2 separate regions of the Homo sapiens genome follow, and region 2 is linked to region 1. The links are contacts of gene promoters, found by promoter capture Hi-C in human tissues and cell types (Jung and others, 2019). All regions are on one chromosome and are shown on one strand. Each heading gives the region's core, a stretch centred on a gene start or on the middle of the fragment in contact. The rest is flanking DNA. Distances are from core to core; before and after follow the strand shown. Region 1 holds the start of EMC9 (ER membrane protein complex subunit 9). Region 2 has its middle 5.6 kb from the start of JPH4.

Region 1 (4,567 bases), core at 1,040-3,539:
AGAGGAGACCCAGGAGCCTTGGGCTTCTAAGAAGAGGTAGAGGGAGTGGGGTACTCACAAGTTCTTATCCTTAGGGACCCAGCGGAGACCTTGGTTCTCCAGGACGATGACCGGGGGCACACGAGGCTGAGGCACCAGTTTCTGATTATCCAACTGAGTGGACAAAGATGGGCAAGTGAGAGTTTCAAGGGTCCCCCCACCCTACTTGCTTTTCACCTCCCCACCCAGAAACCCAAGCCTCACCATAATAAGTACTGCATCAGGGAAGAATTCTGCAATTCGCCCAGCAATTTTCAAGGCCAGGGGCCCAGGGCTGTGTAGAGGGAAGATCAGAGGAGTGAGGAGCCAACTGTGGGCAAAACCCATCCATTTGAGCTGGGCCTCCCAGGTCTCATAGGTGTGGGCGCAGCTGTGGCCTTTCCCTGTAGGTGGCCTGCGGGGATCGGGCCTGCTGGATGCTTGATGCACGACTGCTTGATGCTTGAGTGCTGTGGGAGACAGGTGCTCAGATATTGCTGGTGAGAGTGGAAACCAAAGGTGGTCTTTTTGGAAGGTAATTTGGCATAACCATCCAAATTGAAACTGTATACATACTATACATATGCTGACCCAGAAATTCTACTTATAAAGAATTTATGGTAATCATAGGACAGTGTCTGTAATAAAACACTGGAAACAACCTCAATGTTTAAAGTATTAAATAAATTAGAGTACATTCATATTCAGACTATATAGCTGTTACGGTAGATCTTGGTGTGGAAATGGGATGATGTCAAGTATTTATTAAGTGAGGGAGAAACGCAAATTACAAAACAGTACCTCTAATTGCTCCATGTATATGATTAATATATATATATATATATATATGTCTTTTCCTATATGTATATATATAAGGAAACTGCCTTATTTTTGAAGTTGCTGGTTGGGATTTCTCTGTTCTTTCAGCCCCTGGGGGACACCTCAGTTAAAGCAAGATCAGTCTGTTGGCCGAGAGTGGTGGCTCACGCCTGTAATCCCAGCACTTTGGGAGTCCGAGGCGCGTGGATCACCTGAGGTCAAGTTCTAGACCAGCCTGGCCAACATGGCGAAACCCCATCTCTACTAAAAATAAAAAATAATAATAAATTAAAAAAATAAAAAAAATTAGCCGGGCATGGTGGCGCTCATCTGTGATCCCAGCTACTCGGGAGGCTGAGGCAGGAGAATCGCTTGAATCTAGGAGGTGGAAGTTCCAGTGAGCCGAGATTGCGCCACTGCACTCCAGCCTGGGAGACAGAGGGAGACTCCGTCTCAAAAAAAAAAAAAAAATCAGTCTGTTGATACACAGTTGTCCTCCCCGCCCCAACGGCACTCCAGGGCAGGGCTCTGTCCTATTCATCTTTATATTCCCTCACTCCAGTACCCAGCATAGTGCCTGGTGTAAAGCCCCTGCTCCTAAGCGTTTGATGAAGGAAAGATAAAAGGAACGACCTTGGTTCATCTTGTGCGCCCCCGCCCCGCCCACCGCCCCACGCATCCTCGCCCTCTATTCCTCCAATCCCCAACCCGCCATAATCCTTTCCTTCTTCCTCTGGCTACGCCACTCACCTCTGATCGTTCACAGCTGCATTGGCATGGTAGTAACCAGCCACCACCAGACCGGCCTGTGCTCCCCACACATCCACCTGTCGTAGGAAAGGGGCCATCAGTAATTAAATTGTGCCGCTGGCTTTGTGGATGCGCACTGCTGCCAAGGGACCGGGGATGAACTTGGGCTGGGGTGTTGGGTGGGTTCGCGGTGGGGGATGGGCATCCAACGGAGGCACCTGGTTGAGGGCGACCTCCAACATGACGGACAGGGCCAGGTGGCTGTGGAAGAGGGGCACACAGTCGGTGAGGCACAGGCATTCTCCAGACCGCGGCGCTGGCGCCAAAAACAGCCCGTTGACTGCGGCGTGTGGGTACCGGGCAGCATGCAGGCACATCTTCACGTAGGCCAGGGCCGAGATCTCCACCTCCCCCATGGCGAGCGAGGCCTGGACGGGAAGCAGCAAGCCGGATTAGTACCGGATTAGGCGAGCCGGTGCCTAGCTCGCGTCCGTGAAGCTCCCTCCAGCGCTTCGGCACGCTCTTTGACCCTTCCCCGTGCCCTCTCACTTCGGTTCGGCGACAACGCTAACTCGACTCGCAGGTAGCCCGCCGGCTCCCGGCGCCCTGGGTCCCGGAGTCCGCCCCCGGCCCAGTCCAGGAGGAGGTCCCGATTGCATCCGAGCCCCGCCTTCCCGCGCCCCTAGCTGGCGGCCGCGACTCTGCGCCTGCCTGGGAGACAGACCAAACTGCAGCTCCCTGCAGAACTGGCTCCTGGAGTCCCGCCCACGTGGTGCTCCTTGATAGGGCTAAAGGCTTTCAATTTGTCCAATCAGCGGCCGCGCCCCAACGTTGCCCCGCCTTTGTCTCCAGCGGACTGGAAAGAACCCACCATTGTGAAGCACAGAAAATTGCCCGCACTCTTATTGGCTAGGTTCCCCGACTTCCGCTCTCGGTTGGTGGTTGGCTTTGCCTGTTACCTGTGTTGCCCACTACCACTCGCTCCGCCGAGCCCCAAGGATGGATCGCTATCCCGTAGCCGGGTGTTCCGGAGCGCTGCGGGCAAAGCAGACCGCCTTGCGCCTATTATGGGTTGAGTGGCTCTGTACTCTAGATCGGCTCTGTCACTTACTAATGGGCCGTGTTGCCTTCGCGACTGCAGGTTTTCTTGCCCTTGGTTTATCTTTTGCCCGTGTTCCTTTAAGGATTTAATGAGATATGTATGGGGGCAGGCTTCCAGCCAGTCTAGTGCTTCGCAGCACATTCTTATCTCATATTTTATGACAGGATAAGGCCCTGAATTAAAGAACAATCCCATGGAGTTTACAGCAAGATCACAGCAAAGGAACCCTTGTCTCTATCACCAGCCCAGGGCTGAATCTTGAAAAGCAGAGATAAAGACAGTGATTGGCTGAAGGGGATATGGGGGAGGACAGTAAGAAAAACTTACAGATTCATCCTTCCCATAATGTCCTGCGATGTATTTCCTTCACCACAGTGCCTTGGAAGCATTATTTTTTCCCCTCCTAGCCCTTAAGGAGGGAGTCCAGGCCCGGCGCGGTGGCTCACGCCTTGTAATCCCAGCACTTTGGGAGGCCGAGGTGGGTGGATCGCCTGAGGTCAGGAGTTCGAGACCAGCCTGGCCAACATGGCGAAACCCCGTCTCTATTAAAAATACAAAAAAATTAGCCAGGTGTGGTGGCACATGCCTGTAATTCCAGCTACTCGGGAGGCTGAGGCAGGAGAATTGCTTGAACCCGGGAGACGGAGGTAGCAGTAAGCTGAGATCGTGCCATTGCACTCCAGCCTGGGCAACAGAGCAAGACTCCATCTCAAAAAAAAAAAAAAAAGGGTGGGGGGAGTCCAATCATTCATCCGTAGTTCTCCATAGTTCTCCCAGTGAAACCTTATTCTCCTTCTAGGCTTTTCCTGAACTGATGAGGATTCTTTCTTTCTTCATTCCTGATGTTGACCACAGAACTTTCCCCTTGTGTATCCAAAGCCTGATTATTCCCATAAGGGCTCTGTGCAAATGCCATCTCTTCCAATAATTCCTGAGACCTCTGGATGAAAATAATACTGTTACATTCCAAAATACAGGTTATCTGCATGGCTGCCATGGCATGTAACAATCCCCACCCTAGGCACTCAGGGTGAAGGACTTGGACTATAAACCCAATGGAGAAGATAGCCCTTCAACCTCTGTGACTTTTCTAAAGCTACTTTCCCCCCTTTTTGCCTTAGATGGAAACAGATAAGCAGGAGAAGAAAGAAGGTAAGTGAGATAAGAGGTGACTAGGGAAGGGGAGATGGCACATTGACTACTGGATGAGAAAGGGCCTGAATCCCCTCTTTCTCACAGTCAAGATTACAGTGGGCATCTAAGTCATCTTTGTCTTTGTGACACCCACCCCTTCCCACCACATTCATCTTCAGGCTGGACATAGGTGCCACTCAATAAATGCTTTTTGAATGAATGACACACGCCAGAAGGGAATCCACACAACATATAGATCATTTATTTTCCTTCTAGTCCCGGGTTCAGTACATAGATGGCTTTTCTTCACCCTTTGGGTTGACAATTTTCTCCAGGTTGCTGCTGATGATATGATAAAGCTCAGCCTGGGAGAAGGCCAGAGTGCAAGAGTCAGGTTCTTAGCCAATCCCCTGCCTGCCCCCACTCATCCACCTCCCCTAAAGCCTTACTCCACACTCACATAGAAGGCCCTCAGGTCCAGCACCATGGCCCTGAGCTCCCCATAGGCTGCCTCATCTCGCTCATGCACCAAGGCCCGGTAATCCATCTGCAATGTGGGAGGCAAAGCTGAGTCAGTCCCATGGGAGGCTGGGACATGAGTCTGGTTTCCTTTTATAGGAAATAGGTTAACTTGAGAATGAACCCCTTCTTAGCACCAAGAAATAGGATCCCAAAGGACTGAGCAGAGAAAAGGGTCAAGGTTGTTGAAGCCCAAACCAGTTTTTCTAGGTAATGCTTTTAGCT
Region 2 (4,567 bases), core at 1,142-3,641, 560 kb before region 1:
ACTCCGTCTCAAAAAAAAAAAAAAAAAAAAAAACTGTAACACTCCACGGGAGGGTCCGCGAATTCTTTCTTGAAGTCAGTGAGACCAAGAACCCACAAATTCTGGACACACCTTGTAGTAAAGGCAGGCAACCAACAAGAAACTCTAGTGTGGTTAGTGCCACATCAAGTTTGTGGGGTGGGAGTAGAGAATAGGGATGGAATCCACCTGAGGCTGGTGCTCTAAAGAAAGAGGCATTTAAGATGAATCCAGAAGGGAGTTCTGGGGCAGGCCAAGCTGTGTTGCTCACCTCTAGATATTCAGCCTAGGGTGTCAACCTTTCCTTCTCCACACAGAGCCTTGTCCCACTCCACCCCTAAAATTCCCCTTTTCTCCAAGCAAAAGGGAAAACAAGAAAAGAAAAACCAACCTATGGTCCTGGAACACCCGTGCCTTGTTTCTTAGGGAGAAGAGGTGACAGGGTGTGATGCCTTGTTGGAAGCTATACTGTATTCTGAGCTGCAAATTAAGTGTAGGGTCCAATGAAGTCCCGAAGAAATCTCTGACAGAAGTACTCCCAGAATGTGGGATGCACAGTCCCAGCGCCCCCATGTCTCCCTGAGTGAGCCAGCCTTCCAGCCCCTTTCTTTTCTGTCCCTACAGGCTCTACAGTTCCCTCCTTCAGGGCAGGGGCACTTTTTTTTTTCAGAGAGTGCACTGGTTTGTTTTGCCACAATTTACCAACATTCAGGTGTCAGAGAAACGGGAAGTAATGTTTGAAGGAGCAGCTCTGTGCTAGGAGCCAGGTACTGTGCTTGGCGCGCAATCTGTATGACCTCATTCCATCCTCACAGCAAAACTGTCACTGTGAGCAGTCCAGGCTGGAGGCCTGGAGCTAGGTGTCCAAAGATGGTCAGACTTATGTCTGAATTCTGACTCTATCTGCCACCTACTAGTTGGGTGAACCTGAGCATATCACCTAACTTTTCTGAGCTGCAGTTTGTTTATCTCTAAAATAGGATTATGATAATCTACTCCATGCCTTATTTTGAGGATCAAAATGATCATGTATGAAGTGTAAGTATGCATAATATGTATAATATAGGAGGGAAAACCACTTGGCATAGTGTCCAGCACATAGTGAGTGCCCAGTAAATAATGGCTTGAAAAATAGATTGGCATTATGCCAGTTTTATAGGTGAGAAATCTGGGACCCAGCAGTTAATTTGCTTAATGTTGCCCAGCTAATAGATGGCAGCCCTTGGAGCTTGATATATATCAGACTCCCAAGTTAATATGCTTTAACAAATGCAATTTTGGGGGTCCTGTTTATAAAACATGCTCATTGTAGAATAAGAAAATACAGCATATCAAGAATAAAAATTAAAACCACCCCTAGTCTCACTGTATAACAGTTTAGTATATTTTTATATAGTCTTCTATGTACTTTTAACATAATTAAAAACAGTGCATATACAATTTTGTATCCTACTTATTCACTTAGTTTTCATTGTAAGCATTTTTTTTTATTATACTTTAAGTTCTGGGGTACATGTGCAGAAGGTGCAGGTTTGTTACATAGGTATACACGTGCCATGGTGGTTTGCTGCACCCATCAACCCATCACCTACATTAGGTATTTCTCCTAATGCTGTCCGTCCCATAGCCCCCCACCCCCCTACAGGCCACAGTGTGTGATATTACCCTTCCTGTGTCCATGTGTTCTCCTTGTTCAACTCCCACTTATGAGTGAGAACATGCAGTGTTTGTGTGTCCGGCGTTGGTGGGTTCTTGGTCTCACTGACTTCAAGAATGAAGCCGCGGACCCTCGTGGTGAGTGTTACAGCTCTTAAGGTGGCGCGTCTGAAGTTTGTTCCTTCTGATGTTCAGATGTGCTCTGAGTTTCTTCCTTCTGGTGGGTTCGTGGTCTCGCTGGCTCAGGAGTGAAGCTGCAGACCTTCGCGGTGAGTGTTACAGCTCTTAAGGTAGCGCGTCTGGAGTTGTTCGTTCCTCCTGGTGGGCTCGTTGTCTCGCTGGGTTCAGGAGTGAAGCTGCAGATCTTCACGGTGAGTGTTACAGCTCATAAAAGGAGCGTGGACCCAAAGCGTGAGCAGTAGCAAGATTTATTGCAAAGAGTGAAAGAACAAAGCTTCCACAGTGTGGAAGGGGACCCGAGCGGGTTGCCAATGCTGGCTCGGGCAGCCTGCTTTTATTCTCTTATCTGGCCCCACCCACATCCTGCTGATTGGTAGAGCTGAGTGGCCTGTTTTGTCAGGGTGCTGATTGGTGCGTTTACAATCCCTGAGCTAGATATAAAGACTCCACGTCCCCATCAGATTAGTTAGATACAGAGTTTCAACACACAGGTTCTCCAAGGCCCCACCAGAGCAGCTAGATACAGAGTGTCGATTGGTGCACTCACAAACCTTCAGCTAAACACAGGGTGCTGATTGGTGTGTTTACAAACCTTGAGATAGATACAGAGTGCCGATTGGTGTATTTACAATCCTTGAGCTAGACATAAAGGTTCTCCATGTCCTCACCAGAGCAGCTAGATACAGAGTGTCGATTGGTGCACTCACAAACCTTGAGCTAAACACAGAGTGCTGATTGGTGTATTTACAATCCCTGAGCTAGATATAAAGACTCTCCACGTCCCCACCAGACTCAGGAGCCCAGCTGGCTTCACCTAGTGGATCCTGCACCGGGGCTGCAGGTGGAGCTGCCTGCCAGTCCTGCACCGTGTGCTCGCATTCCTCAGCCCTTGGGTGGTCGATGGGACTGGGCGCAGTGGAGCAGGGGGTGGTGCTCGTCGGGGAGGCTCGGGCCGCACAGGAAACCATGGAGTGGGTGGGAGGCTCAGGCATGGCGGGCTGCAGGTCCCGAGTCCTGCCCCATGGGAAGGCAGCTAAGGCCCTGGCAAGAAATCGAGCGCAGCGCCGGTGGGCCAGCACTGCTGGGGGACTCAGTACACCCTCCGCAGCCACTGGCCCGGGTGCTAAGTCCCCCATTGCCCGGGGCCAGCAGGGCTGGCTGGTTGCTCCGAGTGCGGGGCCCGCCAAGCCCACGCCCACCCGGAACTCCAGCTGGCCCACAAGCGCCGCATGCAGCCCCGGTTCCCACTGGTGCCTCTCCCTCCACACCTCCCTGCAAGCTGAGGGAGTGGGCTCCGGCCTTGGCCAGCCCAGAAAGGGGCTCCCACAGTGCAGTGGGGGGCTGAAGGGCTCCTCAAATGCCACCAAAGTGGGAGCCCAGGCAGGGGAGGTGCCGAGAGCAAGCGAGGGCTCTGAGGACTGCCAGCATGCTGTCACCTCTCATTTGGTTTTCTGTTCTTGTGATAGTTTGCTGAGAATGATGGTTTCCAGCTTCATCTATGTCCCTGCAAAGGACATGAACTCATCCTTTTTTTATGGCTGCATAGTATTCCATGGTGTATATGTACCACATTTTCTTTATCCATTCTATCATTCATGGACATTCAGGTTGGTTCCAAGTCTTTGCTATTGTGAATAGTGCCGCAATAAACATATGTGTGCATGTGTCTTTATAGTAGAATGATTTATAATCCTTTGGGTATATACCCAGTAATGGGATTGCTAGGTCAAATGGTATTTCTGGTTCTAGATCCTTGAGGAATCGCCACACTGTCTTCCACGATGTTTGAACTAATTTACACTCCCACCAACAGTGTAAAAGTGTTCCTATTTCTCCACATCCTCTCCAGCATCTGTTGTTTCCTGACTTTTTAATGTTTGCCATTCTAACTGGTGTGAGATAGTATCTCCTTGTAGTTTTGATTTGCATTTCTCTAATGACCAGTGATAATGAGCATTTTTTCATATGTTTGTTGGCTGTATAAATGTCTTCTTTTGAGAAGTGTCTGTTCATATCCTTTGCCCACTTTTTACTGGGGTTGTTTTTTCTTGTAAATTTGTTTAAGTTCTTTGTAGATTCTGGATATTAGACCTTTGTCAGATGGATAGATTGCAAAAATTTTCTCCCATTCTGTAGGTTGCCTTTCACTCTGATGATAGTTTCTTTTGCTGTGCTCTTTAGTTTAATTAGATTCCATTTGTCAATTTTGGCTTTTGTTGCCATTGCTTTTGGTGTTTTACTCATGAAGTCTTTGCCCATGCCTACGTCCTGAATGGTATTGCCCAGGTTTTCTTCTAGGATTTTTATGGCTTTAGATCTTATGTTTAAGTCTTTAATCCATCTTGAGTTGATGTTTGTGTAAGGTGTAAAGAAGGGGTCTAGTTTCAGTTTTCTGCATATGGCTAGCCAGTTTTTCCAACACCATTTATTAAATAGGGAAACTTTTCCCCATTGCTTGTTTGTGTCAGGTTTGTCAAAGATCAGATGGTTGTAGATGTGTGGTGTTATTTCTGAGGGCTCTGTTCTGTTCCATTGGTCTATATATCTGTTTTGGTACCAGTACCATGATGTTTTGGTTACTATAGCCTTGTAGTATAGTTTGAAGTCAGGTAGCATGATGCCTCCAACTTTGTTCTTTTTGCTTAAGATTGTCTTGTCTATGTGGGTTCTTTTTTGGTTCCATATGAAGTTTAAAGTAGTTTTTTCCAATTTT

What was found. Contacts are between HindIII fragments. The study calls those that stand out against the background at their distance.
Region 2: a contact is called between a fragment that was not itself captured here and the fragment with the promoter of EMC9 in region 1, in 1 of the 25 tissues and cell types used here (hippocampus).

The regions. Positions count from the first base shown.
Region 1 is chr14:24,139,302-24,143,868 of GRCh38, forward strand. EMC9 (ER membrane protein complex subunit 9) reads right to left here and starts at 2,290. Exons shown (of 6, transcript NM_016049.4): 1 at 2,137-2,290; 2 at 1,806-2,015; 3 at 1,588-1,664; 4 at 244-313; 5 at 59-153. The coding sequence starts at 2,003. It overlaps PSME2 (proteasome activator subunit 2), which reads right to left. Exons shown (of 11, transcript NM_002818.3): 10 at 4,284-4,370; 11 at 4,064-4,188. The coding sequence ends at 4,108. It overlaps MIR7703 (microRNA 7703), which reads right to left and starts at 4,264; the gene lies at 4,188-4,264. RefSeq lists a silencer at 2,124-2,213. The HindIII fragment of the contact is 5,248 bases long and covers 704-4,567 here.
Region 2 is chr14:23,582,152-23,586,718 of GRCh38, forward strand. No RefSeq gene overlaps it. Among named protein-coding and RNA genes, the nearest start is that of JPH4, 5.6 kb to the left of the region's middle. RefSeq lists an enhancer at 2,995-3,494. The HindIII fragment of the contact is 8,014 bases long and covers 1-4,567 here.